2 separate regions of the Homo sapiens genome follow, and region 2 is linked to region 1. Evidence: promoter capture Hi-C in 16 types of primary human blood cells and fetal thymus (Javierre and others, 2016). All regions are on one chromosome and are shown on one strand. Each heading gives the region's core, a stretch centred on a gene start or on the middle of the fragment in contact. The rest is flanking DNA. Distances are from core to core; before and after follow the strand shown.

Region 1 (5,098 bases), core at 1,668-4,167:
GCCAGGCGCAGTGGCTCACACCTGTAATCCCAGCACTTTGGGAGGCCTAGGCAGGTGGATCACCTTGAGGTCAGGAGTTGGAGACCAGGCTGGCCAACATGGCAAAACCCCGTCTCTACTAAAAATACAAAAATTAGCCGGTTGTGGTGGCGTGTGCCTGTAATCCCAGCTACTTGGGAGGCTGAGGCAAGAGAATTGCTTGAATCCGGGAGGTGGACGTTGTAGTGAGCTGAGATCATGCCACTGCACTCTAGCCTGGGTGACAGAGGGAGACTCTGTCTCATAAATAAATAAATAAACCAGGTGCGGTGGCTCACACCTGTAATCCCAGCACTTTGGGAGGCTGAGGCGGGGGGATCACCTCAGGTTAGGAGTTTGAGACCAGCCTGGCCAACATGGTGAAACCCTGTCTCTACTAAAAAAGAAAAAAATTACAAAAAAAAAAAAATTAGCCAGGTGTGGCGGGCACCTGTAATCTCAGCTACTCAAGAGGCTGAGGCTGGAGAATCACTTGAACCTGGGAGGCAGAGGTTGCAGTGAGCTGAGATCGCACCATTGCACTCCAGCCTCGGCGACGAGGGCAAAACTCCCTCTCAAAAAATAAAAAATAAAAATAAATAAATAAAAACAAAATTTGAGGCTTAAACAATTAAGCTTCGTGCATCTCTTTAATTTTTCTTTTTTTTTTTTAACTCTAATTTCATGACAGATTAAGCTTCATGCATCTCAAAAATGTGTAGAACCCTCATTCCCAGCCTTCCCTCCCTCTCTCTTGTCCTTCTTTCTGATTTCTTGGAATCGGAAGGAAAATTCGGATATCCAGGAACCATCACACAGGAGGCACCCATGTGATGTGTCCAACATCACTCCACGCAGGTGTCCTTGGGTCCTGGGTGCCCAGGTTCCTGTGAATTGTGACCCCAGGCAGAAGCGTGAGCATCCGCAGAGGAACCCACCTACCCAAAGCCAGGGAACAGCCAGGGCTGGCATCCTCAGGGTGACTGTGCTCCAGGGCACCTCTGACTTGTGCTGAGTAAAATGGACAAAGCCAGCAATGCACCCATAACCCAGATTCTTGAGACACCGCTGGACTTTGGGAATCCCAGGCATTAGGCTCGTGGCAGTGTCATCATGGCTAGGCTGGGGGCAGTGTCATCATGGTGCTTGCTGGCCAAGTCAGGACACGGCCTAAGCCGGAATCTGCTGGTGCTGGTACAAGCGGTGAGTGGGCGTGTGGGTGGGGGTTGCGGTTAGGGTGTGGACATCCCAGAATCCAGGACGCTGTTCACAATTCGTCCATACTCCCTGCTCCCCTCCCTTACAGCACTTCCCTCCCGAGGCCTCCTGAGCCTCTAACCCCCAGATAAGGAAAGGGGTGGACTCAGTTGAAGTCCAGTGTCCACTCCGGTCCAATCAGCTCTACCTGGGGTGAGGGGAAACTCCTCTGGCTGGGCTGCTCCCTCTGCAGGGCTGTGGCTGGACAGATTACTCAAGAAAGGAAGCAGGTGGGCCGGAACGAACCCACGGTGCCACATAGGCCTCCGTTCTCATGCATATAAGTTTCCCACACTCAGGCAGGAAATGAAAATGCTTCTTGGACCCCCAAGGAGAGTAAAGGAGAGGGGAAGAGGAGGAGGATTTTTCGGGGCTGTTAGTGACACTTTCAGCCTCCTGTGCATTTTTGGGAGGGCTGCAGGAGAAGGCAATGCTGCGCCCCTACCCAGAACTAGCGAGCGCTTCCCAACTGGCCTCCCGCCTTCCTCTCGTCCTCTACGGCCTCCATTGGCAGCTGTGCAAGGGCCCGGCCCTGCCTCTGTCTCTCCACACTCGCTGTGATACCTCAGGCCTCCCAGGCTCCGCCACGCCCTTCCCTCTTTCGGGAACAGCTGCCTTCCATCACCTTGGCTGCCTGGCTAATTCCTGCTCATTCCTTAAAACCCTGTTTTGATTTCGCCTCAATAAAACTCTGACACCACCCTCCAGTCATAATTAGTCACTTCTTCCTCTGTACGTTGGAAACACCGCTTTATCGTGGAGACTTTAAGGATATCCAAGTAGAGAGAATTCTTCCGTGCAAGTTTTGCATCCTCTCACCACTGCCTGCGTTACCCGAGTTGTAAAGGGCGGCTCCCTGTGTCTGCCCCGCTGCACCGATACACCGAGCTGCGCACGGTGCCCAGCGCAGGGAGAACAAATGATCATCTGTCCAACGCGCCCATTTACAGGTGAGGAAACTAAGGCTCCAACTCAATCGACGCACTCTGCCCTTTTGATTACCAGAAAAGTAGCAGGACAGGTGTCCTGTCCCGCCCTACCCCGGCCCACTAAGCCGGCACCCCGGCTCCGACCCCCGGCTGTGCCCGGCGCCGCCGCGGTGCCCGGCGCCGCCGCCTCGCCCGGCGGGGCCGCCCGGAGCGCCCGCACCTCCGCCCGCTTCCACCTGGCCGGGCCCGCCCCGCCCGGACTCGGGACTGGGAAGTGCGGCGACTCCCGGAACCAGCCATTGGCGCCAGCGCGGGGAGCTGGGGGTGCAGAGCTGCGGGCGCGGCGGGCCACGCAGGCGGCCCCCACCCCCGGCCTGGCCTGGTCTGGTCTGGTCTGCGCTGCCGCGCGGGGGCGCCCCCTCCCAGGCCCGGCGCCCGCCAGCCCCGCTCCGCCAGGTGCAGCGCAGCGCAGGGGTGGGCGGGGGTGGGGCTCGGCGCGCACGTTCACGGGGCGGGGAGGGGGCGGGTCAGGGGCGGGACCACAGCCGGCTGGGCCGGGGTTCTATGCGCATCTCCGGGGAGGGGCGGGGCGGGGGCGGGGCCGGGGCGGGGCCCGGTCGGTGCACTCCAGACGGCGGGCCGCCCCCTCTTCCCGCCTTCCTACTACCGGCCCAGGATTAGCGCCCTGGGAGCGCGCGCCCCGCTGCCTCGCCGCCACACTTTCCTGGGAGCGGCGGCCACGGAGGCACCATGAAGAAGTCTTACTCAGGTGGGCTTCGCGCCCGGGGTGGGGAGGGGTCGGTGTCCCGGGACCAGCGCTGCTCACCTGAGTGCCTGCGGCCGGGAGTGGCGAGGCGCCCCCGGAGCTGAGCGAGTCCCCGCGGCGGGCACACTGCAGGTCGAGTTCCTCCCAGGACAGGGCCGCTGTCGGGCCGCTTTCGACCTGAGCCGACCGTCCCCTGCGCTGTCTCCAGCCCTTGCTCGAGTGTCGGAGGGGCTGCCCTGGGGGACGCTCCCTCTTCCTCGCCCCTTGCACCCTCGCAGGAATCGCTGACTTTCCAGGTCGGCCGGGTGCTTTGGGTCCCTGTGCGTCTGTGTGGGTGAATGGGGTCGGGGCTAGGTGGAGGGGTGTCCTTGGGTTCAGCCTCTAGGGCTGGTGGTCCAGGCCGCAGCATCCTTTCTTCGGATTCTCTTCGGTTTCTCCTCTACTTAGTGGGGCACGGGACGGCCTCCAGATGGGACCGTCCAGCAGCGCCCAAACTTGGCGACTCGGGTTCACGTTTTGCGCTCAGGACGCCGCCCGCGGCTGACATCCTCACTCCACCCTAGCAGGGCCCGCCTTAAGTAGGCGAAGGGGGCCTGACTTGGGCCTCACCATGAGCCGGTTCAGGAGCTTTCATTTCATAAGAGGCTCCCGCTCTGGCACTCTGAAGTTCCATTTCACAGATGGGCACACCGAGGCCACAAGGGCAGGTTAAGAGAAATCCAGATCTTCATTATTTGTCTTTTCCTTCCTTTTTTTTTTCCTTTGTGGTTTTCTCCAAAGGATCCAGGCAGGCAGGATCCTTTGTCCTCCTCAGTCCTCAAATTATAAATAGCGTCTCCTCTTCTAAATCTAGAAACCGTTTGTTTAATGTCCCTCCTTTAATTCATTCAGATAGAAAGGTACCTGCCAAGGATCCATGAATTAATTTTTATTGATAGGAGAACAGAATCATGGGCCTTAGTTGGAGGTGAAGGAGTCATCGGGGCCATCCCCCTGCCTTTGGGCCATTGTCGGTTTCCTCTGGCTTTCCATATTTAGGAACCAAAATGAGTGATAAAGTACCTTGTCTCAAAGAGGATTACTCAGAACTTCCCCGAAAATACCCTTCTGGGTCAGTAGCTTAGAATTTCAACTTTCACCCGGTTGTTGCGAACAAGATGGCCCTCTACGCACCCGGAGCACAGCTCTGTCAGGAGCGTGGGTGGGTTGGTGTGCTGGTGGGCGGGAGCGGGCTTCCAGGTGGCACATGCTTGGTTTTGGCACCGGGGCTTCCTCCCCAACATGCTCCAAATACTTGAGATTGTTGTGGGGATCGCGCGGTGCATGGCCCTTTCCAGGGGATCTCTAGCCCGCCCAGGGAGGGCCCTTTGCCCTTGGTTTCTTACACTTTACCTCCCACTGGTGGGTCCAGACAGTGGGGGTGACCGGGGTCCTCCCAGGTCGTGGGTCCTGGGTTTTTTCTGCGGAGACCCTCCTGCACAGATGCCGGAAGGGCCCTGAGGCAGGCTTGGAGTCTCTGCACCTGCGGCTTACTGGGAGGTGGGGAGACCATCACTTGTCCTTTTCTCCTCTCCTCCACACACACCTACCCCACCCCTCACTGGGTTTCTTTTTTTTTTTTTTTTTTAAAAAAAAGGACAGAACCTTTTGCAGTAGGTGGAAGTAGAGTTTGTGGAGTGAGCAGGAACCAACTCTTGTACAGCAGCCTCGGTGCCTCCTTGTGTTTACCTAAAGGGGCAGGCCCCTCTGAGGATGGGGGAAGGGAGGGCTCAGACCATTTCTGGTTTGCTCCCTGCTTGGCAGTGGCCCAAGGTGTGCTGGGTCACTGTGTTGCAGTTGTATGGAGTGGGACTGGAGGGGGCTGATGGTGGGGGTGGCCTCTTGCCCTCATTCTGAGTGTCCTGGAGCTGTCTTGGCACCAGCCCTTTTCCGGGTACGGGCACTCGCAGGAGTCAGGCTGACCCCCCAACAAGCCATCGACACCATGAAATTAAGGAAAGCAGCAAAAGATGTTAAAAATCCCCCAAGGCTCTGACAATCCAAGGACAACAGGAAGGTCTTTATTTTTTCATCTAGACTGTGCGGGATTATTGCTTCCAGACCTGTATGTGGGCTTCAGAATAAACGG
Region 2 (5,098 bases), core at 1,780-4,279, 730 kb after region 1:
GGATGACTTTTTTTTTTAAATTGATGGTTAAAAAACGAGAATCTAAGCCTGCCTTTGAAACTATTTTTTATTATTCATTGTGAAATTCCTCATTTATCACTGGTTTTACATCTGCATCTCATTGGTATTTGGTTAATCTAAAAATGTCTGAAGAATGTTATATTAGCTTTCCAAACAATGCTTTTAAATTTTCTTTTGATTTCCACCAAACAGGATCGAACTGATAAAGTTGATTCAGTTTGAATAAGAACAACCAAAGGATATCTGCATTTTTTTAAGGTTCCAATTTCTCATTGCCAACTATCCTTTATAATAAAAAAGATATATTCTTTCTGGATTCCCTCTTTGCTTATTGATATGTAAAAGATTTCTCTTTTTATCCTCCAAGTCCAGAATTTGCTGGTTATCATAAAAGGTGTTGGTGGAAACACACGCATTTCTCACTGTTACTCAGGAACTCCTATGATGTGCTGGAGATTCAGAATGAACAAACTGAAAGCCATACTCCAAGCCTCTTCCTTTTATACCTGTATGTTTAGTTATTTCCCAGTGGTTAAGAGCACCCACTCAGGAGTCACATAAACTAGCTCTGTTTAATTTGGGACAAGTTACTTCACTTCTTTAGGCTTCAGTATCTCATATTTAAAATGAGAAAGGTAGTGAATGGTTCCTACCTCATAAAGCTGTTACAAAGACTTAATACGATTATTTGTCAATTCAAAATAAAATGTAAAAAAAAAAGACTAATTGAGATCATGCAGGAAAATGACTCAGTATCTAGCATATAATTGGTGCTCAGTAAAGGTTTACTATAACTGTTATTCTGAAGTTTTTTTCCACTGGACCATCACATGTACACAACTGTACATGTAGACACATGCACTCTCACAGCTAATACTATGCTTTTGTGAGACATTTTATAATTTTCAAAGTTAAGGTTATGTGTATTATCTCATTTGAACTTCATAGCTGAACAGGAAAGGAATTCGTTTACAGATAATCTCCTAGTGTGAATTAAGAGGCTGGTTCTTGGTTAAGAACCAGTTAATGGTAAAGGCAAGACTTGAGGGAGTCCAGGTCTCTGAACCTCTAGACTAGAGTCACATGAAGAGAGGGAGTTAATGCTCAATGAATATTAAAAAGCAGCATAGCAAAAAGGACATTTTTCTCTGTTATACTCTCAGAAGCACTGTGAATTTACATAACACTTTTCCAGAAGGGTCCAAAAGGTTTATGGTACATAGTTGTGTATGAATTTATGATCTTGAATGAAAAACAATGGTTTCTTACTATTGTCATTTCAAAATACAGAGTTAACTGTTCTGGATCATCCATTTCTTCTTCTTCTTCTTCTTTCTTCTTCTTCTTCTTCTTCTTCTTCTTCTTCTTCTTCTTCTTCTTCTTCTTCTTCTTCTTCTTCTTCCTTCTTCCTTCTTCCTTCTTCTTCCTTCTTCCTTCTTCCTCCTTCTTCCTTCTTCTTCTTTCTTCTTCTTCCTTCTTCTTGAATTTTTCTGTCTGGTTTAGTACCAGCTATATTCTTCATCATTGTCACTGTTTTCTACTCAAGTAGTAACAAATTGCTTATTACTGAACAGTGATTGTGAATTACATTGTCCCACCACTTTACGCAGAGCTATCATTTTCTATTACTGTTCTGATGAGAATTTTCTTTTATTTATTTATTTATTTATTTTTTTTTTTTTTGAGATGGAGTCTTGCTCTATCGCCCAGGCTGGGTGGAGTACAGTGGCATGATCTCGGCTCACTGCAACCTCCACCCCTCAGGTTCAAGTGGTTCTCCTGCCTCAGCATCACCCCACCCCCACCCCATAAGCTGGGGTTACAGGCACGCATGGCCACACCCAGCTAATTTTTTGTATTTTTAGTAGAGACAGGGTTTCACCATGTTGGCCAGGTTGGTCTCGAACTCCTGACCTCAAATGATTCCCCCCCACCTCGGCCTGCCAAAGTGCTGGGATTACAGGCGTGAGCCACCGCACCTGGCCTCTGTTGAGAATTTTCATTGCTAACTCCAAACTCTACTGGATTTTTCTCTTCTCCTTCTATATCCTCTAAAATACTGTTCCTTTGGGTACAGTTTATCAGTAACTACTAACTAGCCTTAGAATGGGTTGTAGTAATAATTAATGTCTTTCCAAACAAAAAATGCTTTTTGAATTATAAATAATCTAACAGTACTGCTAGGTAATTCATTGATGAATATTAGCAGCATCAAGGTTTACGTTTTTCTCAGACTCTTCATTATTACTGGTTCAAACCAAAATTCATTGCCTGAGAAATATTGGTTCCAACTTTCTGACTGGACACTTTTGTCGGGTGACACAGGTTGGCCTGACTGTACCTATGATACATGTTATAGTACTAGTATTAGTGTTCACACATAAAATTGATGCTTTCCTAACATTCTAGCATTTTGACTTCCCTCCCCTGCTCCAGATTGTGTGTCTATGAGGGCAGGGGCCACATTTGCCACAAGGCAGCACCCAGAAGTCTCAAGGCCCTGAGTTGTTTGAATATAGGAAAGTGTTTAGCAATTTGAGAGAGTCCGAGAGTTGGATACTCTTAAGAGAGAAGCTGCAGTTATAAATTAGATTGCATAATATACTGAATCAATCAACATTGTAGAAGTTTGAATAATTTTGGTTTTGATAATTAGCTCAAACTAGACCAAATCAATTAGAAATTCCCTTACTCTGCAATATTACACACCACTCAACTAGTAGCATTCGTAAAGCCATGCCCCAATTATTTAGCATTATATTTGACTTAATTTTCTCAATAATAGAAATGCTTTAAATTTGGATTTGTTTTAAACATTTTCAAGGAACTTTTTAGAATATATGACATGCTCATCTATGATACTCCTCTACCTTCTCCTGGAGAATATTAACTAGTCTAATCCGTTCTTAATAGATGAGTCTCCATTATAGCATTAATTATACTTAAAAAAATGTTTGCATCTGGCTATAACCATCAAACTTGAACTATGAATTCTTATTTAAAAGACTAATGCCGAACTGAAGCTAACTGGAAATATATGTTTTTTGAATAACTTAATATAATATGTAGCATGCTTTCCTACCCTCCCCCAACAAATTTGAAAATTAGATTTCTAGGAAGTCTGCTTTGTAAAATTACCACTGAACAGAAATTTTGTTCCTGGCTATCTTTTCAAATTCTGACCTGTGATATCTTTGGGTCATTTTCTTTTTAAGATTCAGGCCAAGTGAGTACGTTTGTGTGAAACACTATGCTGCCAACATTCATACCCCCATCCTACCCTGATGTGATCATGGGAACCACGTTTTCTCTGCAGCCAGGAGATACACTTTTATTCAGCCCCGGGGGTTTTCACTCAAATAGTTGATTCACTTTGGCTTTCATCAGTTTCTTCCTCTTGACTCCCCCTTGATTTTCCTCTATGCCTCTAAGTCTGCAAACCCTCCAGTGGGGTTGACATCCTGCACTCCTAAGGAGTCTGGGCATGTTTCTAAACCTGGAGGCCTTTTCCTTAGTTGTCTCAGAGTGTTGGGTTGTTGTTGTAGTCAACTTTTTCTTATTTTTCCCTCCTGTGATGAAAAACAAAAGTTATATATTCTGATTGAAAATAATTTGAGATTATCTAAAGAGAAATTAAAGTTCACTCGAAATTCCTCTGTCCTGAGATATTTACCCATTAACAGTTAGCCATCCTTGAATGCATCTCTCTATGAATTCATATACATAAATATATATTTATATGGACTCTCCACTGCTCCCCCGCAGTTAGCACTCCTGGATCCCTATCCCTTCAAGGAGCTGCACCAAGCAATTTGAAAACCTCTGTGGGAGCCTATTCATAAACTAGCCCTTTGTAAATTCTGCTGAATATCGTCTTTGCGTTGGTGACCAAAGAAAGAGACAGCCGAACACAATTACCTGTTACCTTAGTGAGACCCTAGATGCTCTTATACTGGGGGAAAAGGGAATCAGATATAATCCTGTTGCCATTAACTTGTGCATTGTAGCTCTCTGTGGAGTAACTGGGGTCCAAGTGTCACTTCAGACTGGCATGGGTTTTATGACCATAATGAGTAATCAGTTTTCTTTATTTTTGGCACTGCCCTTAATTGAGGCACAGGTAATAATAGCTTTATTTGTGATATGATGACCTTGGGAGCCTAAGTTTTCAGTATTGTTTTCTGGGTGTTTTCATGGATTGAGTGAGGGTTTTTTTAATGATTAACTATGATAATTTTCATAAATGTGAAAATTTAATTCAGTGCTTTTAGCCAGATTTGTTTAACTTCATAAAGTAGATGTTTTCATACAAAAAGCTCAAAGTTAATCTTACCATGTATGAAAGTGAATACCTTCATGACCCATTATGGTTCATGGTCCATATCATTAATGAATTATGTTTTTGTTTTTTTGAGATGGAGTTTTGCTCTTGTTGCCCAGGCTGGAATGCAGTGGTGCAATCTCGGCTCACTGGAACCTCTGCCTCCCAGGTTCAAGCAATTCTGCTGCCTCAGCCTCCAGAGTAGCTGGGACTACAGGTGCGCACCACCATGCCCAGCTAATTTTTGTATTTTTCATAGAGACAGGGTTTCACCATGTTTGCCAGGATAGTCTTAATCTCCTGACCTCGTGATCTGCCCACTTCGGCCTCCCAAAGTGCTGGGATTACAGGCGTGAGCCACTGCCCCTGGCCTGAATTATGATTTTTAAGTCATATACATCTGAATTTATACTTTTTTTGAGAGAGAGGGTCTAACTCTGTTGCCCAGGCTGGAGTGTAGTGGCACGAACACAGCTCACTGCAGCCACCACCTCCGAGGCTCAAGTGATACCCCAACCTCAGCCTCCCAAGTAGCTGACTACAGGTGCATGCCACAGTGCCTGGCTAATTTTTGTATTTTTTTATACAGGCAGGGTTTCGCCCTGTTGCCCAGGTTGGTCTCACACTCAAGCAGTCCACCCACTTTGGCCTCCCAAAGTGCTGGGATTACAGGCTTGAGCCACCAGCTCAGCCCAAATTCGTACATTTAATTAGTATCCTAATCTTGTTTATAAAGAGTATAATTTTAGTTTTGCA

What was found. The method cuts DNA at HindIII sites, captures the fragments that hold promoters and counts their contacts. A CHiCAGO score of 5 or more calls a contact.
Region 2: a contact is called between a fragment that was not itself captured here and the fragment with the promoter of SEPTIN9 in region 1, in 1 of 17 cell types (naive B cells). The highest score is 5.4, in naive B cells.

What each region holds. Positions count from the first base shown.
Region 1 is chr17:77,278,582-77,283,679 of GRCh38, forward strand. SEPTIN9 (septin 9) reads left to right here and starts at 2,918. Exons shown (of 12, transcript NM_001113491.2): 1 at 2,918-2,973. The coding sequence starts at 2,955. SEPTIN9-DT (SEPTIN9 divergent transcript) reads right to left here and starts at 3,316. Exons shown (of 3, transcript NR_136503.1): 1 at 3,031-3,316. RefSeq lists an enhancer at 1,000-1,647 and a silencer at 3,249-3,412. The HindIII fragment of the contact is 6,769 bases long and covers 714-5,098 here.
Region 2 is chr17:78,005,139-78,010,236 of GRCh38, forward strand. All of the region lies in intron 3 of TNRC6C (trinucleotide repeat containing adaptor 6C), which reads left to right. Among named protein-coding and RNA genes, the nearest start is that of TNRC6C, 49 kb to the left of the region's middle. The HindIII fragment of the contact is 6,923 bases long and covers 1-5,098 here.